Regions from separate parts of the Homo sapiens genome. Here all the other regions are linked to region 2. The links are contacts of gene promoters, found by promoter capture Hi-C in blood cells and fetal thymus (Javierre and others, 2016). All regions are on one chromosome and are shown on one strand. Each heading gives the region's core, a stretch centred on a gene start or on the middle of the fragment in contact. The rest is flanking DNA. Distances are from core to core; before and after follow the strand shown. Region 1 overlaps HSDL2 (hydroxysteroid dehydrogenase like 2). Region 2 holds the start of INIP (INTS3 and NABP interacting protein). Region 3 has its middle 23 kb from the start of PTBP3. Region 4 overlaps HSDL2 (hydroxysteroid dehydrogenase like 2).

Evidence for each region. The method cuts DNA at HindIII sites, captures the fragments that hold promoters and counts their contacts. A CHiCAGO score of 5 or more calls a contact.
Region 1: a contact is called between a fragment that was not itself captured here and the fragment with the promoter of INIP in region 2, in 1 of 17 cell types (megakaryocytes). The highest score is 5.0, in megakaryocytes.
Region 3: a contact is called between a fragment that was not itself captured here and the fragment with the promoter of INIP in region 2, in 2 of 17 cell types (fetal thymus and megakaryocytes). The highest score is 6.0, in fetal thymus.
Region 4: a contact is called between a fragment that was not itself captured here and the fragment with the promoter of INIP in region 2, in 5 of 17 cell types (fetal thymus, endothelial precursors, total CD8 T cells and 2 more). The highest score is 7.9, in fetal thymus.

What each region holds. Positions count from the first base shown.
Region 1 is chr9:112,404,023-112,407,044 of GRCh38, forward strand. HSDL2 (hydroxysteroid dehydrogenase like 2) reads left to right here. Exons shown (of 11, transcript NM_032303.5): 2 at 1-136; 3 at 1,602-1,700. Among named protein-coding and RNA genes, the nearest start is that of HSDL2, 25 kb to the left of the region's middle. The HindIII fragment of the contact is 3,724 bases long and covers 1-3,022 here.
Region 2 is chr9:112,716,747-112,719,833 of GRCh38, forward strand. INIP (INTS3 and NABP interacting protein) reads right to left here and starts at 1,371. Exons shown (of 5, transcript NM_021218.3): 1 at 1,241-1,371. RefSeq lists an enhancer at 953-1,052 and a silencer at 1,423-1,582. The HindIII fragment of the contact is 2,113 bases long and covers 794-2,906 here.
Region 3 is chr9:112,355,012-112,358,200 of GRCh38, forward strand. It overlaps a transcript of PTBP3 not described here. Among named protein-coding and RNA genes, the nearest start is that of PTBP3, 23 kb to the left of the region's middle. The HindIII fragment of the contact is 4,467 bases long and covers 1-3,189 here.
Region 4 is chr9:112,386,978-112,390,244 of GRCh38, forward strand. All of the region lies in intron 1 of HSDL2 (hydroxysteroid dehydrogenase like 2), which reads left to right. Among named protein-coding and RNA genes, the nearest start is that of HSDL2, 8.5 kb to the left of the region's middle. The HindIII fragment of the contact is 1,431 bases long and covers 597-2,027 here.

The DNA.
Region 1 (3,022 bases), core at 247-2,746, 310 kb before region 2:
ACAGGTGCAAGCCGTGGCATTGGCAAAGCTATTGCATTGAAAGCAGCAAAGGATGGAGCAAATATTGTTATTGCTGCAAAGACCGCCCAGCCACATCCAAAACTTCTAGGCACAATCTATACTGCTGCTGAAGAAAGTGAGTGTGACAGTGCCATTTGATAAAATGTCTTTCTAGTGGTTTCAATACATAGAGAATTTGCTGGAGAGTTTAGTTAAAGCTATTTGAAAGCTACCCTGAACATAATTTTATCTAGTGAAAGAAGTATTTATGTTGTCACCTTGGGGCAGTGCTTCTGACCGTTTTTCTCCACCAGCACTTTTAAGCAATGTGAGAAACTCCAGTTAAAAATCTTATTTCATGGCGGGGCGTGGTGACTCACACCTGTAATTTCACCCAGCTACTCGGGAGGCTGAGGCAGGAGAATCACTTGAACCTGGGAGGTGGAGGTTGCAGTGAGCCAAGATCATGCCACAGCACTCCAGCTTGGGTGACAGAGCGAGACTCCATCTCTTAAAAAAAAAAAAATCTTGGTTCTTGAGGGCAGTGGTTCTTGGATGGGAGGGGGAGTAGGGAAGTGGAGTAGAGAGGAGAGAATTTGATTGGTGAGTGGCATGAACTCTTTGAGAAAGCGTTCTGTGTTATTTATTCTCTGTACAATTTGCAAGTCATCATTTTAATACTTTTAGTTGACAAATAATTATCACATACTTCTATTTAAGGCATAGCGCTAGGCACAGAGCCAGGAGAGAGGGCTTAAAAATTCAAGTTCAGTTGACATTGCTAGTTTTGTTAATCATGTTCAGAGCACTGTGGTTATGTTAGAGGAATGCATGTGAAGTGTTTATGAGTGAAATGATGTCAGGGATTTGCTTTAAAACACACCAGCAAAAAATAAAACAGGGGACAGGAAAGATAAACATATTAACTGACAAAACTAACAATCGTTGAAGATAGGTGATGGATTCCTGTTAGTTTATTACAGCATCTTTACATTTTTATATAGTTTAGAATATTTCCACAATAAAAAGTTTTTAAAAATTACTTTCAACTGGGTGAGGTGGCTCAAGCCTGTAATCCCAGCACTTTGGGAGGCCAAGGCGGGTGGATCACTTGAGGTCAGGAGTGCGAGACCAGCCTGACCAACATGGCAAAACCGTGTCTCTACAAAAAATAGAAAAATTAGCCTGGCGTGGTGGTGCATGCCTATAGTCCCAGCTACTTGGGAAGCTGAGGTGGGAGGATCCTTTGAGCCTGGGAGATTGAGGCTGCAGTGAGCTGTGTTTGTGCCACTTCACCCAAGCCTGGGCAAGAGAGTGAGACCCTGTCTGAAAAACAAAAACAAACAAACAAAAAACTTCCTTTTTTTAGCTTTTTAAAAAAATTACAAAGAAACCCCCACCAAACCTTCGTTTTTGTTTTTTAATAGTGTTAGCCTAGCTAGTCTGTCCTGCTATATGGTAGAGTCACTGGTGGTAAGATAGAGTTATTTATATTGATTTTCTGAAAACAGGGTACTTTTTTCTTTTGACTGTGATATTGGAATTAAAGGTATAATATTTAAATGCTTTAACGCTTTTTCATTTTGTATCCTTTATATAAGTTGAAGCAGTTGGAGGAAAGGCCTTGCCATGTATTGTTGATGTGAGAGATGAACAGCAGATCAGTGCTGCAGTGGAGAAAGCCATCAAGAAATTTGGAGGTAATACCTTCATTCTGAAAAAATTATTGGATATTGGTAAAATAAAGGTATAACTATAATGTTAATTTAAAAATTTGTTTTGAGTTTTGAATTTTCTGAGTCTTTGGAGAAATACGTATTTGCTCACACAGAACATGATTTAAAACCATCTGATAAGGCTGGGCGTGGTGGCTCACACCTGTAATCCCAGCACTTTGGGAGGCCGAGGCAGGCAGATCACTTGAGGTCAGGAGTTTAAGACCAGCCTGGCCAACATGGTGAAACCCCGTCTCTACTAAAAATACAAAAATTAGCTGAACATGGTGGTGGATGCCTGTAATCCCAGCTACTCAGGAGGCTGAGGTGGAAGAATTGCTTGAACCTGGGAGGTGGAGGTTGCAGTGAGCTGAGATTGCACCACTGCATTCCAGCCTGGGTGACAGAGCAAGACTCTGTCTCAAAAAGAAAAAAAAAAAAAAGAAAAAGAGTGTGGAATGATAGACTGTGGAGACTGGGAAGAAAGAAGGGATGCAAGGGGGGTAGATGAAGAGAAATTACTTAATCGGTACAATGTTTGCTGTTTGGGTGATGGATACCCTAAAAGTCCTGGACACTGCACAATCTATGTATGTGAGAAAATTGCACTTGTGCCTTATATATTTGTTTTTGAAAAAATTCTTCCTTTATGTGGTTAAATTTCATCTTCTTCACAAAGTCAGTTCCCTCACCATGCCAACTAATCAGAATTATATTTTTCTTTCTCTGATTTCTTTTTTCTTTTTTTTTGAGACTGAGTCTTGCTCTTGTCACCCAGGCTGGAGTGCAGTGGCGCAATCTCGGCTCACTGCAACCTCTGCCTCCTGGGTTCAAGCGATTCTCCTGCCTCAGCCTCCCGAGTAGCTGGGATTACAGGCGCCTGCCACCATGCCCAGCTAATTTTTGTATATTTAGTAGAGACAGGTTTCGCCACATTGGCCAGGCTGGTCTCGAACTCCTGACTTCATGATCCACCCAACTCAGCCTCCCAAAGTGCTGGGATTACAGGCGTGAGCCACCGTGCCCGGCCTCTCTGATTTCTTAAAACATTCATTTGATCCTTATCTTGTACTATTTTAGATCTTAGTATTTCTTTTCTCCCCAATTAGTTCAAAAGTTCCTAGAAAAAAGGTGTTGGGGATTGAGCTAAGGCTTTCATGGTATTATAGTAGGGCACCTAGGCATGTCCAAATCCTGCCTAAACCATTACCACTCTCCCCGCTAATGTTCTGGAGGACCATATGTACATGTGAGGGACAATGGCCAGTGGAAAATGAGGGAATGCTTCAGTGTTAGCAAGGCTGTAC
Region 2 (3,087 bases), core at 121-2,620:
CCATCCTGGCTAACATGGTGAAACCCAGTCTCTACTAAAAATAAAATTAAAAAAAAAAATCAGCCGGGTGTGGTGGCAAGCGCCTGCAGTCCCAGCTACTCGGGAGGGCGAGACGGGAGAATCACTTGAACCCGGGTGGCGGAGGTTGCAGTGAGCCGAGATCGCGCCACTGCACTCCAGTTTGGGCCACAGAGCGAGACAGCGAGACTCGGTCTCAAAAAAAAAAAAAAAGAAAAGAAAGAAAGATACATTTGAAATGTACACAGACTGAAACAAATGTAAACTCTGCTAGTGCCTCAAGCATTTAATTAAATACGGCATTGTTTATTCTTGCAGATGTTCATACCATTTAGCATTACTGTCTTTAATAAACGTCATTAGGTTGTATTTACCAAATATATCAACCAATTGATAGAGTCAATATAATCATGGTGCTAGGAAGAAAAATCATTCATCTATGGTGTCTCTGCATTCGTCTAAAACACATACCCAAAAACTACTGTGTACACTGAAAGCTAAAAAAGGTAAAGGAGTACTGTATCTGCTCTGCACCATACACTGTGTAACATGCTCGAAATTAGTTCCTTTATTTATTTATCACCATTTTATAGATGAGGAAACCGTACCCAGGGTCATAGAGCTAGTAGGAATTATTTGGGCTGCTGGTTTCCAAACTTCGTGCTTTCGTACTAAATCCTGGGGAGATCCAAGATGAGCAAGACCCTAATCCTGCTTTCAGAAGGGAAAATAAAGTCTTATTCAAGCAACCATACTATTAATTAAAAAAAAAAAAAGCTTAACAAACCCGCTCTTTAAAAGGTGGGCACAGTGCCGGAGGCAAAGAATTGATTTCATTGGCAGCAAAGAGTGATGCCTTAGTCTAGGGAGCCCGGGAAAGACACAAGGGATAGAAAACAGACACCGGTTTTTAGTAAATGAATCGTTAGGTGTCTCCAGCGGCTGAAACACAGAGCGAGCAATGCGGGGTTAGGACTGGAGGACAACAGGGCCATCTTGTGACAGGGTAGACTGGCGTGCCAGAAAGGTCCCTGCCTACGGATGTGCAGAGCCGGCTGGGCCCGGGCTGTGAACGAGACGAAGGAAGCAAGTAGGAGCCAGAAATGTTAGGTGGCAAGGTCGGAAGGGAGGTCGCTGCCTGTAGCAACAAAGACGGCGGCGACAGGTTAGCACCGGAGCCACACTTTTCTATTGCCCGGTGCCTCCAGACTGTCGTACTTACCTGGGACCCGAGGACACCGGGACCGCCTCTCCTTACAATCGCTGCTCTTAAAGGGGGCGCGACCACTTAGGCAAGAGGAGCTCAACTCGCGGCACTACAACCTTCCCGCCCCCGCTGCGCTTCCGCCTCCTGACTGACGTGCGCCCCAGGGAGCGGAAACCCCGCCTCCCGCCGGGACCCAACGGCCACCGCCCGTCGTGATTCGCACTTTAGCGGCCACCTCAGTGCAGACGTCACTTTTTTTTCCAAAGAGTGACAGTCGAAGAGGCTCACGGGAGATGCAAACGGTACTTTTGGGGGCTGGGCCAGGGTGGGGCGTGGCCCGGGGCGGGGGAGGGGCGGGGCTGCCAGGCAGGGGCGGGACGGAGAACACCTGGGTCCCTAGCACCAAGACTGGCTTTTTATTCATTGCCACCGCCTGGCCGGTCTTGCGACGGTGCGAGTCCACCTCGGCTGGGCCTCGGAGGAGGGGCGACTCTAGAAGCTAAACTCGCTTTCGAGCTTTAACAACCATCTCGGATTGCGCATCCGCACACACACACACACACACACACACACACACACAAATTCAGGAATATTTTTTGTCTACAGTTTACATAATTATACACAATGAAAGCACTGAATATGGAGGATTTTTATTACAGTGCAATAATCTGCATTTAAGAAGTGGATGTGCCACATCGCAGAACACCAAGTTGCCACTAGTGGGATCACCTGCTGCCCACCTGATTCCAGCACAGTAGATAGCTACACATTTGAATTAAAAGGTAATCGTATATTGACATGTGTTCAAATTGCACTCTTTTTAATTTAAAAAAATATTTTTTATGGTGACAGTGTCTCGCTTTGTTGCCCAGGCTGGTCTTGAACTCCTGGCCTCAAGGGATCTGCCCACCTCAGCCTCCCAAAGTGCTGGGATTACAGGCGTGAGCCACCTGCCCTGCTTAAAATTGCAGTGTCTTAATCTCTTCCGAAAGATACATTTGAAAAACGCACAGACTTAAATCACAAATGTAAGCTCCCCAAGCGCCTCAAGCATTTAATTAAATAGAATGGATAATGAATTTGAACATATGTTTTTAATAATTGATGTTTGCTCAAGAGTAAAATGTTTATGATGCACAATTTTCTTGTGCATGGATCAATGACTGAAATAATCGTTTCAATATCAAGTATTTATTTACTGAAAACCAAGCATGTATTTACTCTATACCAAGCAGCTATTGAGTGCCTTCTACAATGCGAGGTGCTTCCTGTGCATCAGCTCTGGTCCTGCTGTTCCCTGATTTATATTTGAGACTCATGTTTCTTGCTCTATGTCAAGTAGCGAGCTAAGATTCAAATTTAAAGATCTGCCAGATGCTAAGGCCTGAGTTCTTAAATCTCACACATTGCCTCTGCTCTGGAGGAATGAATTCCTCTGAGACCAGTTCTTGCTGACTTGACTTTAATCCAGATATAAAGCCTAACACATGAGCATTTTGATGGTAGGCCAGGAGTCCTTTCAGTTAAGAGGACTTGGTGAGTTCTAGTATGACTAAAAAGATGACTGAGATCTATATGGCTGATAGAACCTTAGAATTTTTTTTTGTTTTGTGGCCTAGCTAATATAGAAACTAGGGCACAGAAAGTTCCAGTCTAAGTTTCAAATGGACATTCTGAACAAAGCTTATTTAAGGAGGTGGGAGTAAAAACAGTTCTAACCCTAAACAACATTTTATAATTTCTTAGCAAATTCAGCCTCTGAGAGTTGAAAGAACATTATCAGGAGAAAGATAAATTTAACTTGCTGCCAATTCTTTTGCCTTTTACTTGGTAGGTCATAGCCCTTGAAACCCTTCTGTCTT
Region 3 (3,189 bases), core at 658-3,157, 360 kb before region 2:
TAATAGTTATTTACTGGGCACCAGGAGGAATTAGGTGGAAATATCTCCAAGGGAACTGAACTTGGACTACCCACACCCACCGTGGATTTTCTTGCTAGAGCCATATTTTAAATCAAATGAATAATTCAGACCTGAGAAAATGCTTGGCTTGGGAAAAGAGGATGGATCCTGGTATGAGACCAACCCCTGTGAGTGGGGCCTGGAATCTACTGAAAGGAGGAGGGAGATATTAAAGGAAATGTTGAAGAAGGAAATTTGAACAACATCAATGCTCTGAGAAAGAAATGCAGATGTGAAGACAAGGGGCAATAGTAGGGATCCAGGTGTGCTCAAGGCCTTTGCGATGGTTTATATTCTTGTGATAATTTTATCTTCAGACTGAGTATCATTTAAGAGTTAGGTCCAGCTGCATACAACAGAAAACTCAGTAACAAGATAAACTAGATACAAATGTATTTCTCATGCAAAGGAAGTTCAGAAGTAGTGGTTTCAGGGCTGATATGACACTCCATTTCATGTTCATCAAAGACCCGTCTTCTTTTGTTTCCATTACATAAGCATATGGCTTTCATCATTCTTAAGATTACAAAATGGCTAAGAACTCTTTTTCTTTTTTTTTTTTTTTTTTTTGTGGAGGGTGGGTGTTGGGGAGTTGCCCAAGCTGGAGTGCAGTGGCGTGATCACAGCTCACTGCAGGCTTGACCTCCTGGGTTCAAGCAATCCTCAGCCTCCTGAGTAGTTGTGATTACAGGCATGCGCCACCGCGCCTGGCTAATTTTTGTATTTTTTTGTAGAGACAGGGTTTCGCGTTGGCCAGGCAGTCTCAAACTCCTGGACTCAAGCCATCTATCCGGCTTGGGCTCACAAAGTGCTGGGAATACAGGCAGGAGCCACCACACCCCACCTGGAAATAAAAGTTTCTTTCTTTTCTTTTCTTTCTTTCTTTCTCTTTCTCTTTCTCCTTCCTTCCTTCTTTCTTTCTCTTTCTTTTCTTTCCTTCCTTCTTTCCTTCTTCTTTTCCTTCTTCCTTTCTTCCTCCCTCCCTTTCTCTCTCTCTCTCTCTTAGATGGATTCTCCTGCCTCAGCCTCCCAAGTAGCTGGGATTACAGGCGCACACCACCACACCAAGCTAATTTTTTGTATTTTTAGTAGAAACAGGATTTCACCATGTCGACCAGGCCAGTCTAGAACTCCTAACCTCAGGTGATCCACCCGCCTCGGCGTCCCAAAGTACTGAGATTACAGGTGTGAGCCACAGTACCGGACTGGAAACTCTTTAAAGCAGCTTTCCCAGAAGTCCTTCCCAGCATCTTCCACATACGTCTCATAAGCCGTAATTTGGTCATGTGGCCATCCCTGGCTGTAAAAGTGGCTGGGAGGTGCAGTGTTTTTGCTGGTTATATTGTCACCTCTAAAAATAATGTTGGTAAGAAGTAGTGGGTAAGCCACTAGCAGTCTGTGTGACATAGCAGTTGTCATATAGTTAAGATTTTTTTCTCTTATGCAATAATTCCACAACTCTTTGGTGAAGAGTTGTGTGGGGCTGGTGTGGTACATAAAGCAACAGAGCAAAAAAAAAAAATGGTGAAATACAGCTTGATCCATGTAGTCACTCCGCTGCTTGTGCTCATATAAGGGAGCAATTGTCTACTGAGGGAATTGTTTTCTAGAATTCCAGGTATCTAGCTCCAAGTTGAGGAAAACCCACAGTGTACTTTGGAGCAGTGGGATTGTCAGAGATATAAGGGAAAGACTCAAGAGGCTTTTGAGACAATTGCGTGTGCGCACACACACACACACACACACACACACAATTTGGCCCCAACCATTTCATTTCAGAGCAGGTGTATATTCATTTCCCTCTTTTTTTTTTTTTTTTTTTTTTGAGACAGAGTTTCACTCTTGTTGCCCAGGCTGGAGTGCAATGGCGTGATCTCAACTCACTGCAACCTCCACCTCCCAGGTTCAAGCGATTCTCCTGCCTCAGTCTCCCGAGTAACTGGGATTATAGGCACCCGCCACCACACCCGGCTAATTTTTTTGTATTTTTAGTAGAGACGGGGTTTCACCATGTTGGTCAGGCTGGTCTCGAACTCCTGATCTCAGGTGATCCGCCCACCTCAGCCTCCCAAAGTGTTGAGATTACAGGCATGAGCCACCGCACCCGGCCTCCCTCTACCTTTTAATACTTCATACTAAGACGTGGAAATTCTCTTGCATAACCCAGCAGAGTTGTCAAATCAGGAAATTCATTACTGATACAATACTTTAATCTCTACTGCATATTCCAATTTGTTAATTTCCAGTAGTGTTCTTTTTGTGTTGTTGTTGTTGTTGTTTTGTTTGTTTGTTTTTTCTGAGCAGGGTCTTGCTCTGTCATCCAGGCTGGTGTGCAGTGGTGCAATCACAGCTCACTGCAGCCTCGACCTTCCTGGGCTCAGTTGATCCTCTTACCTCAGCCTCCTGAATAGCTGAGACTACGCGCAGGCAGCCATGCTTACTAATTTTTGTATTTTTTATAGAGACAGGGTTTTATCATGTTGCCCAGGCCGGTCTTAAACTCCTGGGTTCAAGCAATCTGCTAGACTCAGCTTCCCAAAGTGTTGGGATTACAGGTGTGAACCACTGCACCCAGCCTGCCAATAGTGTTCTTTATAGCAATTTTTTTTTTCTATACAGGAACCAGTTCAGGATTATGTGTTGCGTTGAATTGTCATTTCTTCTTTATTGCAGCTTCTTAGACTTTCTTTCTATTTTTTTATGACATCGACATTTTTGACTTCTTATTCACCTTGGAGAAGGTGTAAACAACTGGAGCAATTTTGCCTCCAGAGGACATTTGGCAATTTCCAGAGACATTTTTGGTTGACAAAACTGGAAGAGTTGGAGATAGATGGGGTGATGGTTGCACAACAATGTAAATGTACTTAATGCCGTTGAACTGTACACTTCAATATAGTTAAAATGGTAAATTTTATGTTAGGTATGTTTTACAAAAATAAACAAAAAAATTTGGCCAGGCGCGGTGGCTCATGCCTGTAATCCCAGCATTTTAGAAGGCCAAGGCAGGTGGATCATCTGAGGTCGGGAGTTCAAGACCAGGCTGGCCAACGTGATGATACCCTGTCTCTACTAAAAAAAATAAAAAATTAGCTGGGCGTGGTGGCAGGTGCCTTTAATCCCAACTAC
Region 4 (3,267 bases), core at 62-2,561, 330 kb before region 2:
ATAACAGCCAGATGTAATGTGAGGTCCTTATTGGATCCTGATTTGATCAGGCCAACCATAAGAAAAACTGAGATAGTTATAAAAGTTTGAACATAGACAGATATTGAGTGATATTGAGAAATTATTGTTAATTTTCTTGGGTATAATAATGACATTGGTATTTTAAAAGTTTTTATCTGTTAGAAAAGTAAATACTGAAGTATTCATAGGTGAAAGTATATAACCTCTGGGATTTGGTTTCTTTTCTTTTTTTTTTTTTTGAAACAGGGTCTCACTCTGTGGTTCAGGCTGGAGTGCAGTGGTGTGAAATCAGCTCACTGCAACCTCCGTGTCATGGGCTCAGGTGATCCTCCAACCTCAGCTTCCTGAGTAGCTGGGACTATGGGTGCGTACCACATGCCTGGCTAATTTTTGTATTTTTTAGTAGAGATGGGGTTTCTCTATGTTGCCCAGGCTGGTCTCAAACTCCAGGGCTAAAGCGTTCTGCCCACCTCTGCCTCCCAAAGTGCTGAGATTATAGGCATGAGCCACCATGCCTACCTAGGATTTGTTTTCTGATGATTGCTTTCACAATTTAGTAGTTGAATAAACATGGAAGCTTATTATACTCTTTTCTGGTTTTTTAAATGTATTTGAAAATTCCATAATAAAAAGAGTCTTCGTTTTTGCACTGATTGTTTATTGGTTGCAAGGGAAGGAATAGTAACTGTGCAGTGGAGAAATATGGTAACACTATGGTTAGATGATAAAAATTGACATTATAAAGTGAGTACGGATGGACGTTGTATGCTGCCCTATGGGATATACTGAGGAAAATACAGTATCACATGTTCTGGTTGGAAATGCATAACCGGAATCTAATCATGAAGAAATATCAGTTGAATCCAAAATGAGCATTCAGCCAGGGGTGGTGGCTCATGCTTGTAATCCCAGCACTTTGCAAGACCAAGGCAGGAGAATCGCTTGAGCCCAAGCATTCAAGACCAGGCTGGCCAACATGGTGAGACCCTGTCTCCACAAAAAATAAAAAAATTAGCTGGGCTTGATGATGTGTGCCTGTAGTCCCAGCTACTCAGGAGGCTGAGGTGGGAGATTTGCTTGAGTCCAGGAGGTCAAGGCTGCAGTGAGCTGTGATTGCACCACTGTACTTCAGCCTGGGTGACAGGGCAAGAGCCTGTCTCAGAAAAAAACAAACAAAAAAAAACCCAGGCACAGTGGCTCATGCCTGTAACCCCAGCACTTTGGGAGGCCGAGGCGGGCAGATCACGAGGTCAGGAGTTCAAGACCAGCCTGACCAACATGGTGAAATCCCGTCTCTACTAAAAATAGAAAAATTAGCTGGGCGTTGTGGTGCGTGCCTGTAATCCCAGCTACTCGGGAGGCTGACGCAGGAGAATCACTTGAACGTGGGAGGCAGAGGTTGTAGTGAGCCGAGATCGCGCCACTGCACTCCAGCCTGGGAGACAGAGCTAGACTCCATCTCAAAAAAAAAAAAAAAAAAAATACGCCAGGTGTGGTGGCTTACACCTGTAATCCTAGCACTTTGGGAACCTAGGTGGGTGGATCACAAGGTCAGGAGTCCAAGACCATGGTGAAACCCTGTCACTGCTAAAAATACAAAAAAAAATTAGCCAGGTGTGGTGGTGCATGCCTGTAATCCCAGCTACTCAGGAGGCTGAGGCAGGAGAATTGCTTGAACCTGGGAGGTGGAGGTTGCAGTGAGCTGAGATAGTGCCACTGCACTCTAACCTGGGCGACTGAGTGTGACTCCATCTTGGAAAAAAAAAAGTAAGGATCATTATATTTTTTAAAAAAGGAGTGCAGACTGTATTTTTCAAAAGGTCAATATCATAAAAGACAGAAGAGGCTGCAAAAATGTTCTAGATTAACGGAGACTAAAGAGATATGTCAATTAAAAGCACTACCCTAAACCGGGTCCTGTAGTGGAAGGAAAAAATGCTCTAAAGGGCATTATTGAGTCAATTGACAAAATTAAAATACTGTGAAAGTAGATACATGAGAGACCAAGCTTTGATGTATTCAGATCACTTTTTTTTTTTTTCTTTTTGAGACAGGGTCAGTCTCTGTTTCCCAGGCTAGAGTACAGTGGTGTAATCATGGCTCACTGCAGCCTCAACCTTTGGGATCAAACAGTCTTCCTGACTGAGCCTCCCGAGTAGCTGGGACTACAGGCACACACTGCCACACATGGCTAATTTTTTAATTTTGTAGAGACAGGGTCTCACTATGTTGCCCTGGCTGGTTTCGACTTCTGGGCTCAAGTGATCCCCGTCTTGGTCTCCCAAATTGCTGGGATTATAGGCATGAGCCACTGCACCTGGCCTCAAATCACTCTTAAGTGGTTTGGAGAAAATAAGATATAGAGAAGGAGAAAGGGAGAAGGAGAGAAAATGAGCACAAATGCTAAATCATTGGGGTAAAATATTAACAATACATGAATCTGGGTGAAGGATATGTGAATATTTTTTTTGTACTATTATTCTTGCAACTTTAAATTTGAATTATTTACAAATAAAAAGTTGGAAAAAGTTAAAAACAATGGAGTACCTAGGAATAAAGCCAACAAAAGATGTATAATACCTTTCTGTAGGAAATTATATCATAATGAAATACATTAGAAAGACCTAAATAAATGGAATTATACCATGTTCATGGATTAGAACACTCACTGTCACAAAAATGTCAATTCTTTCCACTTTGAATTATAGACTTAATGTAATTTCTGTCAAAATCTCAACTGATTTCACTTGACCAGTTAGATAATGAGATTCTAAAATATATGTGGGCCGGGCGTGGTGGCTTATGCCTGTAATCCCAGCACTTTGGGAAGCCGAGGCCGGTGGATCACTTGAGCTCAGGTATTCCAGACCAGCCTAGCCAACATGGCAAAACCCTGTCTCTACTAAAAATACAAAAAATAGCCAGTCATGGTGGCGCATACCTGTAGTCCCAGGTACTCAGGAGGCTGAGGCAGGAGAATCACTTGAACCCAGGAGGCTGAGGTTGCAGTGAGCCGAGATCACGCCCCTACACTCCAGCCTGGGCAACAGAGTGAGACTCTGTCTCAAAATAAATAAATAAATAAATAAATAAATAAATAAAGTAAAAAATAAAATAAAATATATGTGGAAAATTAAAGGTCCAAATATAGACAAGAAACTCTTGAAGAAGAATAAATTGGAATCATTTGCCTTATCAGTTATTAAGACTGATAAAGCTGTTTTAATTAAGGCAGTGTGATCATGT